Regions from separate parts of the Homo sapiens genome. Here regions 2, 3, 4 and 5 are each linked to region 1. The links are contacts of gene promoters, found by promoter capture Hi-C in blood cells and fetal thymus (Javierre and others, 2016). All regions are on one chromosome and are shown on one strand. The core of a region is centred on a gene start or on the middle of the fragment in contact, and the rest is flanking DNA. Distances in the headings are between cores, read along the strand shown.

Evidence for each region. Contacts are between HindIII fragments. The CHiCAGO score rates a contact against its expected background, and 5 or more counts as called.
Region 2: a contact is called between a fragment that was not itself captured here and the fragment with the promoter of RELN in region 1, in 1 of 17 cell types (endothelial precursors). The highest score is 5.1, in endothelial precursors.
Region 3: a fragment that was not itself captured here is called in contact with the fragment with the promoter of RELN in region 1 in 1 of 17 cell types (endothelial precursors); the score reaches 6.9 in endothelial precursors.
Region 4: a contact is called between a fragment that was not itself captured here and the fragment with the promoter of RELN in region 1, in 1 of 17 cell types (endothelial precursors). The highest score is 5.2, in endothelial precursors.
Region 5: a contact is called between a fragment that was not itself captured here and the fragment with the promoter of RELN in region 1, in 1 of 17 cell types (endothelial precursors). The highest score is 5.7, in endothelial precursors.

Annotation. Positions count from the first base shown.
Region 1 is chr7:103,988,169-103,991,054 of GRCh38, reverse strand. It overlaps RELN (reelin), which reads left to right and starts at 1,397. Exons shown (of 65, transcript NM_005045.4): 1 at 1,397-1,924. The coding sequence starts at 1,699. The HindIII fragment of the contact is 6,896 bases long and covers 1-2,886 here.
Region 2 is chr7:103,532,019-103,534,904 of GRCh38, reverse strand. The region is part of intron 46 of RELN (reelin); the gene reads left to right. LOC105375435 (a long non-coding RNA gene) reads right to left here and starts at 315. Exons shown (of 3, transcript XR_001745315.2): 1 at 275-315. The HindIII fragment of the contact is 1,837 bases long and covers 590-2,426 here.
Region 3 is chr7:103,554,410-103,557,295 of GRCh38, reverse strand. It overlaps RELN (reelin), which reads left to right. Exons shown (of 65, transcript NM_005045.4): 38 at 137-319. Among named protein-coding and RNA genes, the nearest start is that of SLC26A5, 110 kb to the right of the region's middle. The HindIII fragment of the contact is 2,672 bases long and covers 24-2,695 here.
Region 4 is chr7:103,636,752-103,639,637 of GRCh38, reverse strand. All of the region lies in intron 17 of RELN (reelin), which reads left to right. Among named protein-coding and RNA genes, the nearest start is that of SLC26A5, 190 kb to the right of the region's middle. The HindIII fragment of the contact is 1,886 bases long and covers 404-2,289 here.
Region 5 is chr7:103,664,699-103,667,584 of GRCh38, reverse strand. The region is part of intron 11 of RELN (reelin); the gene reads left to right. Among named protein-coding and RNA genes, the nearest start is that of SLC26A5, 220 kb to the right of the region's middle. The HindIII fragment of the contact is 2,267 bases long and covers 256-2,522 here.

The DNA.
Region 1 (2,886 bases), core at 148-2,647:
ATATATATATATGCACATACATATATGTATACACTGTATATTATTTATATGGCAGTTAAGCCTCTGGGGATTTTGAAGTAAGGGAAACAAGAAGCCAGCTAGAAATGGGCCCTTTCTACCTGTCATTCGGTCTCAGTAAGAGGAAGAAAAACAATTTCTTCCTTTTGCAACGAAGTGATTACAGAGGTCTCCCCTTGGACCCTGATTTTCACCGCCCCTCGCCCCACAAATGCAGGCAAAGGCACTATCCCTTCCAATTTTATAATCTACTCATTTCTGTACGTGCGGGTTTATCTGGCTTGGTGGCAAGCCAAGGGTGGGTGGGGAGAGGCATTAAAACCTGGCAACCCCGCTCCCCCATCTCCGGATGCCGCAGGGCTCCTGCCAGCCGTCCTCGGTTAAAAACGTGCTTATGGATTATTTCACTTCCCTGCAGTTCATGTGCAGCCGCTCATTACCACCCGCTTCAATCACCGCTGCCAGCATCTCCCCTGAACGTTTTTCCCTCCCCCGATTTCAGGGCCATTGGTCATAACCGACATTTAAAGGAAATAAACACTGATTTAAAAAATTACAACACCCATCTCTGCCTGAAGAGCCCAGAAGCAATGAATAACAGAACAGTCCGGCGAAGAGAGCCTGTCGGATCTTAGCTCCGCCAGCCCTTCCTGCCTTACAATTCCCCACAACCGAGCAGCACAAATCACCATTTCCAGGCACCACTCGAGTCTGCCAATTCCACTTTCGCTTAATCTCATTTTAAAATCCTCTACAGATGAGGCTCTGTCGCTGCCGCGAGGGGCCGGGCGGCCGCGGCGGGAGGGACAGGGGGCCTGGGTGGGAAGGGAGCGCGAGGGCCCCTAGCGGTTCGCGGCCTCGGGCGGATTCCCAGAACGAGTGCGGGCCGCCCGGACTGGCAGACTGCGAGCCCCGAGGGGCGCGGGACGCAGCCGGCTCAGACAAAGAAACCGGCGCCAGCGGCCGTCCCTGCCGCCCCTCTCCTTCCCTCACGCATCCTCCCAGGAAAAACAGGGCACACTGACGGCCAAAGGGGCTGGCCTTCCCCTTCAGACAGCTGGACGGGAGGTGCCCTCTGCGGGGCTTTGACGTCCCTCGCAGAAGAGTCGCGGGCTCAGCGGTCCTCGACAGCGTCCCCGTCCCGCTCCCCGGCGGGCGCCCCTCCCTGTCCTCCCGGGTGCGAACCGGGCGCTGGCCGGGGACTCCGGGGACGCGTGCGCCCCTCGCCGCGCGAGGTGCCGCCGAGCCAGCCCGAGAGGGCGGGGGGCGGGCGGGGCGGCGCGCGGGGGCGGGGGAGCGGCCGGGACACGTGTGGCGGCGGCGGGGGGGACGCGGCGCCCGGGGCTTTAAGAAGGTGTGGAGCGGGGCGGGCGCTTTCCCAGGCCTGGCCGAGGGGCGTCGCGCAGAGGCGGCGGCGGCGCACGGAGGCGGCAGACGACGCGCTCTCGGCGCCCGCAGCCCCGGTCCCGCGCTCCCGCGGCCCAAAGTAACTTTGGGAGCCGCCGTCTCCCGCGGAACTTCTCGGCGGGGGCCCGCTCCCAGGCCCGCTCCCGAGCCCGTTCCGCTCCCGTCCGCCTTCTTCTCGCCTTCTCTCCGCGTGGCTCCTCCGTCCCGGCGTCTCCAAAACTGAATGAGCGAGCGGCGCGTAGGGCGCGCGGCGGCGGCGGCGGCGGCGGCGGCATGGAGCGCAGTGGCTGGGCCCGGCAGACTTTCCTCCTAGCGCTGTTGCTGGGGGCGACGCTGAGGGCGCGCGCGGCGGCTGGCTATTACCCCCGCTTTTCGCCCTTCTTTTTCCTGTGCACCCACCACGGGGAGCTGGAAGGGGATGGGGAGCAGGGCGAGGTGCTCATTTCCCTGCATATTGCGGGCAACCCCACCTACTACGTTCCGGGACAAGAATACCATGGTAGGTACCGCAGCACCTCCGCGCTCGCCGCCGCCGGGTGCGCCCGCCAGCGCACCTTTCTCATCCCTTTCCTTCTTCCAAGGGGCCTTGGAAACAAGAACCATGACAACCCTGGCCCCAGCGATGCGCTTGGTCCAGGGAGCGAGAATAAAGTTAGTGGAGAATGGAGTCACAAGTTGGGATTCATTCTCCATGTCCCCACTCCCCGAACGCATCTCCTGGTAATGAGCTGGTGCTTGTGCTAAACGCCTGAGAATTCTTGGAGGCCGGTGTCTTTCCCCCTCACTCCCCGTACTTACCGCAGGCACTTTAAATTGAACCTGCGCATTTTGTTTCTTTACTCCTAGGACTTGGATTTCAGACCTTTGTCCTGCTCCCGGTCCCCCCAGATGGGTCCCCGGGGGGGCGTTGGGGGCTGTCGCTGGGCTTTGCGGGCAGGCTGGTGACAGATTGAAGCGCCCAGGTCTGTGGCTGCCCCGCGCCGCTCGACCGCAAAGTTCCCGCTGCTCACCAGCCAGGAGTCCCTGGCATTTCATTCAGTGTCATACAGCCCTCCTGAAAGGGAGCGGCTGCTTCCAGCTCCCTATTCTTTTGAAAGTGTGATTTAATATGTCAGTAATTGATGATTTTTCTGATTCCTGCCTTACTTTTACATGGTGCTTCTTGTTAGAATTATCTTTGTGATGTTTATTAATGACTTTGTATTTTATCTGCACAGCTTTAATTTCCAGGTAGAGGCTGGAATCCCTTATAATTTAGAGGTATCTTAAAAATGGAATCATTATGCAGCCCTGCATCAAAAATAAACATTACAGAAGAAATAAAATTTAGCTCCAAGAAATATAATATTATGTAGTACATGTATTTTAAGCTAGTACATCGAGTATGTGGAAAAATAAAAAATGTCTCTTTTCTGTATTTCTTCTGGGACTTCTGAACATTTCATGCCTATAGAGCTTTTA
Region 2 (2,886 bases), core at 259-2,758, 460 kb after region 1:
TATAAATGAATGTAGCAAATAAATGTACCTTTAAATTATGTCTGCTTTTAAAATTTTATTATGGACATTATCTTGAGAATTATCACCTGAAGCATTATTTTATGTGAAAAACCTTTCATTCTTGTCTCTATGGAAAGGGATCAGGGCTTAATAAAATTGCCTGGTACGGAAGGATCACTTGAGACTAGGAGTTCAAGACTAGCCTGGGAAACAACAGCGAGACCCCATCTCTACAAAAAAAATTAAAAAATTAGCCAGGCATGGTGGTACCTACCTGCAGTCCCAGCCACTCAGGAGGCTGTGGCAGGAGGATCACTAGAGCCCAGGAGTTTGAGAATGCAGTGAGCTATGATCATGCCACTGCACTCCAGCTTGGGTGTCAGAGCCAGACCCTGTCTCAAAAAAAAAAATTAAAAATTAAAGTAAATAAAATTGCCTAGTAAATTCTGATAAAGAAGTTAAATCTAAATTATCTGTGCATTTCCACTCCTGTTTGAGTAAAGCAGAGAATTAGCTTTGCCTAGTGGAATAGTGTTACATGACACTCTCTCTTTCACCATCTAAACTAGGTGCTAATTATAGGAAAGCTTTAACATCTTGATAGAAACTCCTATTTCCTCCAAGAAAATGGTTTTCAGTTGCTGCATTAAGAAAGAAGCAAAGCAACCAATCCAGTGTGTGGAACAGGAGTTATAGTTTGGGCTTATTATTGTTTTGTCATCTTCCCACAAATGAAGAATGAATAAATTTTCCTAGCAAATGACCATAAAATTCAACCATTCATCTAGGGCATAACTTTTCTTAGGATTATCATAAATGGGATGGTTTCAGTTAGTAACAGCCTAGGGCTGCTTTACAATTGCTGGCTCAGAGGTACGAGACTATATTAACTGTCAGCAGAGTTGCCAAGTTTAAATGAGATACGTGAGATTTTGTTGCTCATTAAAGGTGTTGCCATGCATGAATTATTAAAGCGATCTTAATAAGTAAAATAGAAAAAAAAACTCCATTAAGGCAACAGTCTTTTAAGTCTTTATGAATTCTATGAATTATTACCCAGCTACTCAGTCACATTTTGCAAATAAGCGACATTCTAAGATTTACTCCAGCTAGTCATTATGCCCTTGAGTCTTTTACTCAAGAAAAGTAATTATTTCTCATCTTTTAATCTATCTTTTAATTGTCTCTTGTACATACCCACAAGAATTTTGACCCTTTCAAATGTTATTTGAAAAATCTGATGAGCATCCATTTCCCCCTGTTCTGTACTGAAAATAAGCAGTTTGTTTATTATATTACCCTCAAGGCTCATGTACAATTGTCTTAAAGGTGACACTGCCTTGTAACAAGGCCCTTTGGGTAATTCAGAAAGAAATGTGCATGGAGGGAGCCCAAGCCAGAGTCACTTCTCTGCCATATGCCAAAGATCATTAGAACAATATGCCAGTCTCAGAGTTACTTGTTTCGAACATGAGTAAACATATCTACACTACATCTACATTTATATTCAGTTACTTGGTAAATATGGTGTTTCCTTGTTTTAAATTAAAATCGCTGTCTCTGTTATCTGGAAACGTATTGAAATGTCAATGTTTATTAAGCAGGCCAGAATTGAGGATTTCAGTTTGTAGCTCTTCGCTATAAAGAAACGTGATGCTGACAACTTAAAGACATGTGCTCAGTAAGGGTTAGGAATGACTGTGACCATGTCACAACTGCAGCCTTGTCTACTCAACACATGACCATAAGGCTAGGATCCCAGTATTGTTGGCACAGTACTAGTGAGTGTCAGCTGAGGTTGGCTGGTCACAAATTGACGTCAAACCATTCACCAAACTAAAATGGTCACTAGTCATCAGTAGCAATTATTCATTCAGTCACTCATTAAACAAATATTTTTAACTGCTTAATTATGTGCTAGGCCTATGAGGGAGCTGAACTGATCCCTGACTCAAGGAGCTTTTAATTTGGTAGGAGAGGAGTATTGGCCAGAAATCACCAATAATCACAGGAGTAAATATAAAATTCAACTGTGATAAGTGATGGAGAACAGGTACATGATGCTCTAAGTTTCTGTATCGTAGGGTGATGTGACCTGGTCAAGAAGGCCAAGGAATGCTTTCTTGAAAAAAGGATAATTGAGGTAAGATATGAAGGTTGAATACAAGTTAACCAGGTAAAGTGTAAGGGTAGGAGTGTTCCAAGCAAGGATAGCAGCCAATTGTAGGAGGGGACAGGTGTATTTGAGATGCTGAATATATGGATCAGATAGAGAGAGGAGCAAGGTGAGGTATGAGATGGTGTCAGACCATGAAGAGCATTGTAGGTTGTATTAAAGATTTGGAGGTTCATTATAGGAACACTTAAAAGCCTGTTAAAGTGTTTGGCAATAGGGAGACATGAACAGATTTGCATTCAGAAAAGCTTCTTCTTTTTTTTTTCATTTCCAGCTTTTAAGTTCAGGGTTCCATGTGCAGGATGTGTAGGTTTGTTACATAGGTAAACATGTGCCGTGGTGGTTTGCTGCACAGGTCATCCAGTCACTTAGGTACTAAGCCCAGCATCCATTAGCTATTCTTCCTGATGCTTTCCCTCCTCCCACTCCCCACTTTCCAACAAGCCCCAGTGTGTGTTGTTCCCCCCTTGTGTGTCCATGTGTTCTCATTGTTCAGCTCCCACTTATAAGTGAGAACATATGGTATTTGGTTTTCTGTTCCTGCATTAGTTTGCTGAGGATAATGGCTTCCAGCTCCATCCACATCCCTGCAAAGGACATGATTCTCATTCCTTTTTATGGCTGCATAGTATTCCATGGTGTATATGTACCACATTTTCTTTATCCAGTCTATCATTGATGGGCTATTAGGTTGATTCCATGTCTTTGTT
Region 3 (2,886 bases), core at 110-2,609, 430 kb after region 1:
TGAAGCATTTGGACTATAAAGCTTCCATGTAAACATAAGTTCTCTTATGCATTGATGCCTAAAGATTCAGCTAAGAACATACCATTTCCCCATTTTTATCACAGTATGTTTTATACCTGTGTTATCTTCTTCCTAGGTACCCCAGAGAGATCTCACTCTATTCTGTTACAATTCTCCATCAGTGGAGGAATCACTTGGCACCTGATGGATGAATTTTACTTTCCTCAAACAACGAATATACTTTTCATCAATGTTCCCTTGCCATACACTGCCCAAACCAATGCTACAAGATTCAGACTCTGGCAACCTTATAATAACGGTAAAAATGCATGTGTTCTCCTGTGATCAGAACTGATAGTGGCATGTTAACACATTTGTTTCTAAGGTGTGGAGGAAGTGTTTGTCAACTGAGCAGCTTAGCTGTCCACAGCACACACATTTTACATGCTTCACTTTTGACAAATGTATTAGTCCGTTTTCGTGCTCTTGATAAAGACAAACCCAGACTGGGAAGAAAAAGAGGTTTAATCGGACTTACACTTGCACATGGCCAGGGAGGCCTCAGAATCGTGGCGGGAGGCAAAAGGCATGTCTTACATGGCAGCAGCAAGAGAAAATAAGGAAGATGCAAAAGTGGAAACCCCTGATAAACCCATCAGATCTCATCAGACTTATTCACTGCCACAAGAACATTATGGAGGAAACTGCTCTCATGATTCAAATTATCTCCCACCTGGGTCCCTCCCACAATACATGGGAATTATGGGAGTACAATTCAAGATGAGATTTGGGTGGGGACACAGAGCCAAACCGTATCAACAAGTCTCAATAAATATTTAAATATTTAACATATATATATATATATACACGTATATATAATCTCTTCATATTTGACTAGTGGGTTCTCCTGTTAATGTAAATATAGCTGAATTCTGTTACAGAGCTAAAGATTTTTAAAAATAATCCAGCATTATCATTAGGCACTCATCAGTTGTAATGACATTTTTGTTGCATTTATTTGGGAATACATAGTTCTTCTGAGTGTGGCGTTTCATTAGTGAAATAGAATACTATAGCAAAATGCCATGACGAAGTGAGAGGGACTTAGACCAAGCAGATAGTGCCGTAGATAAAATATTCTTATCACATACACTTGCTTCAGTGATAAGTTAAAGTGAATGTATAATTTAATACATTTCAAATGGTTACAGAAAATGATTCTACAAATTGGTAATGTTTTATTGCTTTCTATATTTCTATTAACTGCTGATTATAAAGGACCAGACTTTACCAAGTCATGCATATAATCACCTAAATAAGCATGGAGATGCCACATTAAGCAGCAGATTCTTTGCAGAGGCAACACAAAAATGGAAAAGGCAAAGGTTCTTCCATCTCTAAAATTTAACCTATTTCCTTAACAATATGTTAAAACTAAAACATAAAACAAAATTTTTAATGTATTGTGAAACATATATGTATACATACATCTTGTCACTGAATAAAAGTCCAAAAAAGGAATGTGCCAGGCGCAGTGGCTCACAACTGTAATCCCAGCACTTTGGGAGGCCGAGGCAGGTGGATCACCTGAGGTCAGGAGTTCAAGACCAGCCTGGCCAACATGATGAAACCCCATCTCTACAAAAATACAAAAAAATTAGCTGGGCGTGGTGGCACACACCTGTAATCCCAGCTACTTGGGAGTCTGAGGCAGGAGAATCACTGAACTTGGGAGGCAGAGGTTGGAGTGAACCGAGATCATGACACTGCACTCCAGCCTGGGTGACGGAGGGATTGCTGTCTTCATACTATGTTTGGAGTGCTCACCTAATTATTTTTTCATTGATTCCACCAACCACTTTCTAAACAAGAAGAGGAAAGAATGCTACTAGAATTAGAACACTGATAGGATTAGAGATAGAGACCTGTGATTTCATTCAAAGCATCAGGTTTGTTCTACAGGCTCCTGTTTACAGATCCTTTTTTATGTTTTGTAAGAATTGCACTGAAGTAGAAATCAGTGAAGAAGCAACCTAGGGAATCTTGACGTTCCTGCTTGGCATGGACTTATCACCTTTTTTCAAGGTCAGTCCAAACAGTGCTTTACAAAAGCAGCCTGGCTTTTGCCGTTATTATCTACTCTAACATATTCCTTAAACACCTGGTCTAAATCACTGAATCAAATACTATAGCAGTATAAAGGGTGATTTCCCTAGTTTCCTATATATTCCCACAGTATCTCCAGATCAACATAGAAGATATGAAAAACATTAAGAAAACATGGAGTATTATTGATCATAGAATATTTTTCTTCTGTATTAAATAAACAAATAAATGCAATTACGTATCAGGGCATTATTTTAATGGCCATAGTCCTTCAGCCTGACTGAAGTATGGTGCTAAGCCATGGGTTGGCCCTAAAAAGCATGAATTGCTCCCTGAATAGACTGATTAGTGTTCCTCGGCTCTAAGTCCACTAACTGACCACTCATTCTCACAGACTGCATGTCTCACAGATTCCCCTAAACCACTAAAACACAACTCAAAACCCACTCTTGCCAGGGGAGGGTTCATAGCACTGCTATTATTTGAAGGACAGCATGCTTTCACATACATTATATACACAGCATTGTCACAGCTTTCTGAAATTAGCAAGGCAGTTCCATGGTATATCAATTTAATATGGTTGCAAGCTTAATTTTTTCACTTTTTTTTTTTTTTTTTTTGAGACAGCATCTTGCTCTGTTGCCCAGGCTGGAGTGCAGTGGCGTGATCTTGGCTCACTGCAACCTCCACCTCCCAGGCTCAACCATCCTCCCACCTCAGCCTCCTGAATAGCTGGGACTACAGGCATGCACCACCATGTCCAGCTAATTTTTTTGTTTA
Region 4 (2,886 bases), core at 97-2,596, 350 kb after region 1:
ACTTGAGGTCAGGAGTTCGAGACCAGCCTGGCCAACATGGTGAGACCCGATCTCTACTAAAAATACAAAAATTAGCCGGGCGTGGTGGCGTGCATCTGTAATCCCAGCTACTCGGGAGGCTGAGGCAGGAGAATCACCTGAACCCGGGAGGTAGAGGTTGCAGTGAGCCAAGATCGTGTCACTGCACTCCAGCCTGGGCGACAGAGTGAGACTCCATCTCAAAAAAAAAAAAAAAGAGAGAAAAAGAAAAAAAAGAAATTGCATGTATGAGCCAAGCGCTTGTTGACATTGAGATTAGTGTGGCTTTTTAACTTTCTAACTATATTTCAGTGAATTTAGTTAACAAAGAGATCACTTTTCCCAATGGAAATTTTTTATAAAGTATGTGAAGAATTGAAAAGCTTCCATCTATATTTCCAAACTGAATATGCATTCCTGTGTTTTCTAGTAAAACTACCAACTCCCATTCCAAAACACTGGTCAGTAGATCTATGAAACATTGGCTGATATCTTCCTCAAGTTGTTATGTGCATCCATTATCCATAATCAGACCATCTTCTTAGTGTATTTCAAATAAAATTAACATGAGGCCAGATAGTTTTGCAAATCCTGATGTTGTCCTAAAAAGTTTTGGGGAAAAAAATTACCTAGAATGACAACTTTTATTTTCAAAAAATAGAAAGTGGCATTTCTAAAAAGACCTATCCATAATTACAGTAGTTATACTTCAGACTTCATTTTATGTGTATCATATTCCTCTTAGAATTAAGTGGTTTCATTAAGGCTACCATCTATGCCACCCATGGTGGATACAAACAAATCTAAATGGTAGCTTTATGCTTTTGGACATTGTTCTTTTTTGACACCATCCATTATTCCGAATAGTCATAGTCTTTTCCTCCTTCTGAGGTTTTATGGAATATTTTCACCATTTAGAACTTTAGTGTTTTTCCCTATTTCTAACAATGTTTTATGTAATATTCATTGGCTTTGTTCGCTTACGGCTGGGCTAAAAGTTTGACTACTACCTCCTTTTCCAGCAATGTGTACCTTATTGAATTTGAGCAAAATCACACAGAAAAGAAATGTATATGTAATACCACTTACTTCCTTTAAACAAATCATTGAATCTGGGACCTTTGCAACTTTATATTTTTCTCTCCTCTTTACTCCACCTCTCCCCCGTGTTTTACTGCTATTTGCTATCAAGATTCTACTCTCTCATGTTCCCTCTAACACTTTCTGGCCTGTGTACAATCCCAGGCCTGGTTCTCTAAATGGACACACTACTAACCTGATAAGCCCAACCCTGTTAGAGATGCTAATGAGGAGACAGAGCATTAGAACCCCTTTCTTCACGAGTGTCATCCATGTAGCTTAACAGTGGGGTGATTTTCCTGACATTACAGGGTGACTATACCGCTAAATTTAAGCATGTGTAGATGGATTAGTAGCAGACATATTGGGAGTCAGGAGAGCCTCGTGTCATACCCGAAATCACCAATGTGTGTGACCTTGTTGTTTTGCTGAGAAACAAAGACTACAAAGTTTTTTGTTTTTTTTAAAAAATATTTTTAAAAAACTACTTTATCTTTATCAGCATTATATCTCAACTGAATAACCTTTGATTAAAAGTAGACTTTTAAAACGACTAAATGGAAAGTGACTCCAATGTGAGTCATCTCTAAACGATCACCAGTTTCTCCCAGTCACTTGTCCTGAGAAGACACATTTAAGATACACAAAAATGTAATTGCCCTAAAATGCACTCTGGAATAGATAGTCTTGCTAAGGAAAATTAATTCCAATTCGTGACTGTGGTAAAACACATTCAGTTTCCTGACTTTAAAATGTGTTCAATTTAGCTGATTTTAAAAATTCTTTTTTGGAAACAACTTGGCTATTCAGTCTAAGTTCAGTCTAAGTCCATTAGACAACATGTGAAAGAAGGCTCATCCAGTAAATATTGGCTTTCCTTTCATCCCCTTATTGATGCTACTTAAGATACCAAGACAACCTTCAAACTTCATGCTACAGTAGTTCTTAGCATTTTAGGCTCCAACTTATTTGGTAATCTGATAAAACCTATGGACCTTCTCCCCAGAAAATCCAATATACATAAAACTGGTCATTTGATTTAGCATATTTTTACATTCCATGGACTCCTTGAAAGGCCAGCATAGACCCAAGTCTCAGTAGTACTGCCAAAGAAGTATCCTGAGTCATGCCATAGTATCACTTCATTGGTACACTTGCTTTGTAAAGGCTTGTTTCAGACTTCAGCAAGCTTTGAATGCTCCCATGAGAATCCCCCACTCAAAAAGATACCAATTGAGCAACATTATAAATGTAGTGAGAAGGAAATAGCACAGTAAAAACAAATAATTTGAAACTATTTCCTGATGAATAATCTCCTTAAAACGTAGATGTTTCCATTGCTGATTCATCTGTGATGAGGTTTTCTCACTGATAGAAAACTTGGGGCACTCCTGTATATTCTAGTCAGCTAATATAAATACAGCACATTCTTACATAGAAGCAAGCAGGTTGTTGGGGAGTGGGGAAAGGTTTGTTTTTCTTGAAGTGCCACTAATTTGGGAGAGTCCACTGAGAGGCAACACAGTTCTGCTAAGGACATCTATCTAGGTCAAGGGTGTACACATTCCCTTTATACATCTGAAATAGTTAAAGATAGATTCATTTTCCAATAGTTTCTAAATATTTAAATTAATTCCTATCACGAACATAACATGTATTTTAACATTTGTTCTTAGAAAAAATTTATTCTGGGTATCTTATTGGAAGTGCTTTATGCTGTTTCTTTTATAAATTTAATGAGTGTTATGAATAAAATTATACATAAACCTTTTACAGATATTCTAAGTT
Region 5 (2,886 bases), core at 140-2,639, 320 kb after region 1:
ATATAAGCTTTGGATGAAGAAATTATGGCTAATAAACATTATATTTATTTTCCTGAAAAGAAACATATCTTCATGCCTTAGGATAATTATTAATATTCAGTAACTAACAATTGTTTTTATTTATAAAATTGCTTTTTATATAATAAAGTCACCAAGGATATTTAGAAACAAGAAAAAAGTTAATAACCAGACTACATTTAAAAATTGATTATTTAACATGTTAAAATAAATTGAACCTACTCTAAAAGAGAAGCTTGCTGATTTGAAAGATGACATCGTCCTTTAATTTGTTAACACTCCTGATGACATAATTAAATGAGAGCCTAAAATGAACTAATTAGCTTACCTCTTTTAGTTCCCCATCATTGCTAATAGTAATCAGCCAGCTGAAAATTTGAAGCTGTGACAACAAGGCTGGCTGAGCTCATGCAATTCCTTTTCCTCTGCAAATCCATAGAAATGTTGGATCAAGTATGATAATTTTCTTCAATATGTAGCCCTAGGATAGGGGAGGAAATGAGCAGATACCTAAAACAAAGGGAAATTAAAAACCTGAGTAATAAGCCTTTAGCTGAAACTTAGGCAGTTCAGGATGGACTGAACATATGTAATCGAAGGCTGAAGATTAGAGTTAAAAATACTCACACAGGATCTTTGGCAGATGACAGATAGAACTGATACTCTTGTATAAATACGGGACCCTGAAGAGCTCCTTCTCCATAAAGAAGTAATTAGGATAACAACTTCTCTCATTGATTCAAGTGTGAAAAAAAAAATCTCCCAGAAGAATGGAAACTCCAAACAAATGTGAAATTCACATTCATTCCACCCAGGTGGTGGGAAAATTCTAAACTGAGGAATTAATGTAAAAAGAAATTCAGGACCAGGGAACCTCCAAGATGCTCACAAACGCAAATGCAGAACCCCTTTGTAAAAATATTTCTTCTACACAAAGTGTGTAAAATTAACACTGGAAATAAGTCCACTAAAGTTGAGCTCACAACAAGAATTATGATCTGTGTGATTTTATGATTCACCAAAAAGGACAGTCATCAGATATGACAAACAGAAGAATAAGTGCATTCCAATTGAGATAAGAGAGATATGAGATAAATATGATTAAATGATTTAAAAGATTTTTTAAATCTAAGTCATTTTGAAAGAAGAGGGTACTATGAGAAAAGAACAAGCAAATATTAAAAAGAATCAAAGAAGTGGGGCACAGTGGCTGACACCTGTAATCCCAGCACTTTAAGAGGCCAACATCGGTAGATTGCTTGAGCCCAGGAGTTTCAGACCAGCCTGGGCAACGTGACAAAACATCATCTCTAAAAGGAAAAATACAAAAATTACCTGGGCATGGTGGTGCCTCCTTGTAGTCTCAGCTACTCTGAGGAGAGCCTGAGGTGGGCGGTTCGCTTGAGCCCAAGACGTTAAGGCTACCATGAGCCATGAATTGCACCACTGCACTCCAGCCTGAACAACAGAGCAAGACCATTTCTCAAAAAAAATAAATAAATAAAAAATAAAAAAATCAAAGAAAACTTTTTAAAATGAAAAATACAGTGATAGAAATTAAGTATTAACTATAAAGGTAAAAATATAGAAACAACTGAAGAGAGAATTAGTATACTGAACTAGAGACAGATCTGAGAAAAAAACACATAATGCAATATAAAAAGAAATAAAGATTAATGAGAGAGTGAGAGACACGGAGAATAGAATATGACATTTCAATACAGGTCCCATAGAATTTCCAGAAGGAATATAGAATGAATAGAGGATAGTTAATATTTGAAAAGATAGTGACTTACATTTTTCCAGACCTGATTAAAGGTTTGAATCCCCAAACTGACAAGGTACACCAAGTTTCCATAGAATAAATAAAATAAACCTATACCTACATACACTGCAGAAAAATTTTAGAATACCAAAGACAAAAAAGCAACCAGAGAGAAAGAAAGATTATTTACAAAGAAGCAACAATTCAATAGATAACTTCTTATCAGTAACTAAAGAGACATCGGATTCTTGTCGAGATCCAAGTAGGGTTTTTAATAGAACTCAACAAAGTGATTCTAACATTCATTAGGAAGAGTTAACAAGGGCAACAGTAGCCAAGACAATTGTGAAGAAGTGAAAGGTGTGGCTGAGGGACAGAGGGAGCTCAGCTATCAAGAGCTATTTTACATATACAGATTTTATATATATATATATATATACACACACACACACACACACACACACCATATGTATGATATTTAAATTGGTTTGGACACGGAGATGGACATATAGACTAATGGAGGAAAAAAGAGAGGCAAGTTAATTGTAGAAACAGACTCACGTTTATAGGGGATTGTTATGTGACAGAAGTGGCATTACCAATAATTAGGGCCAACGGTTAACAGTTCTGGAATAAATGCCTATCTGTATAGAAAAAACCATATTGGATCTCAAACTCATTCCTTACCTCAAATCAATTTCAGGTTCATTAAAACCACCTAAATGTGAAAAGCAAAGCTTTAAAACTTTTAGAAGAAAATATAGACGAGTATCTCTATGATTTGAGGGTAAGGGAGAATCAGATAAAAAAGGCACAAAGCATAGAGAAAAGATAGATAAATTCTACTATATTAAAATTAAAACTCATCCATACATCCAACGACACATAAACAAAGTGAAAAAAAGTACAATACAGATAGTCAAGAAAAGATTACTACCTGGAATATATAAAGAATTCAAATCATAAGAAAGTGAGAGAAAGAAAAGAGTGATCCTAATACAAAATGGACATAAATAGGCAACTCAAGATAAGAGTGACCCCAACTGGCCAATAAACATGAAAATATATTTAGCCTCACTACTAATCATGTAAATGCAAAGTTG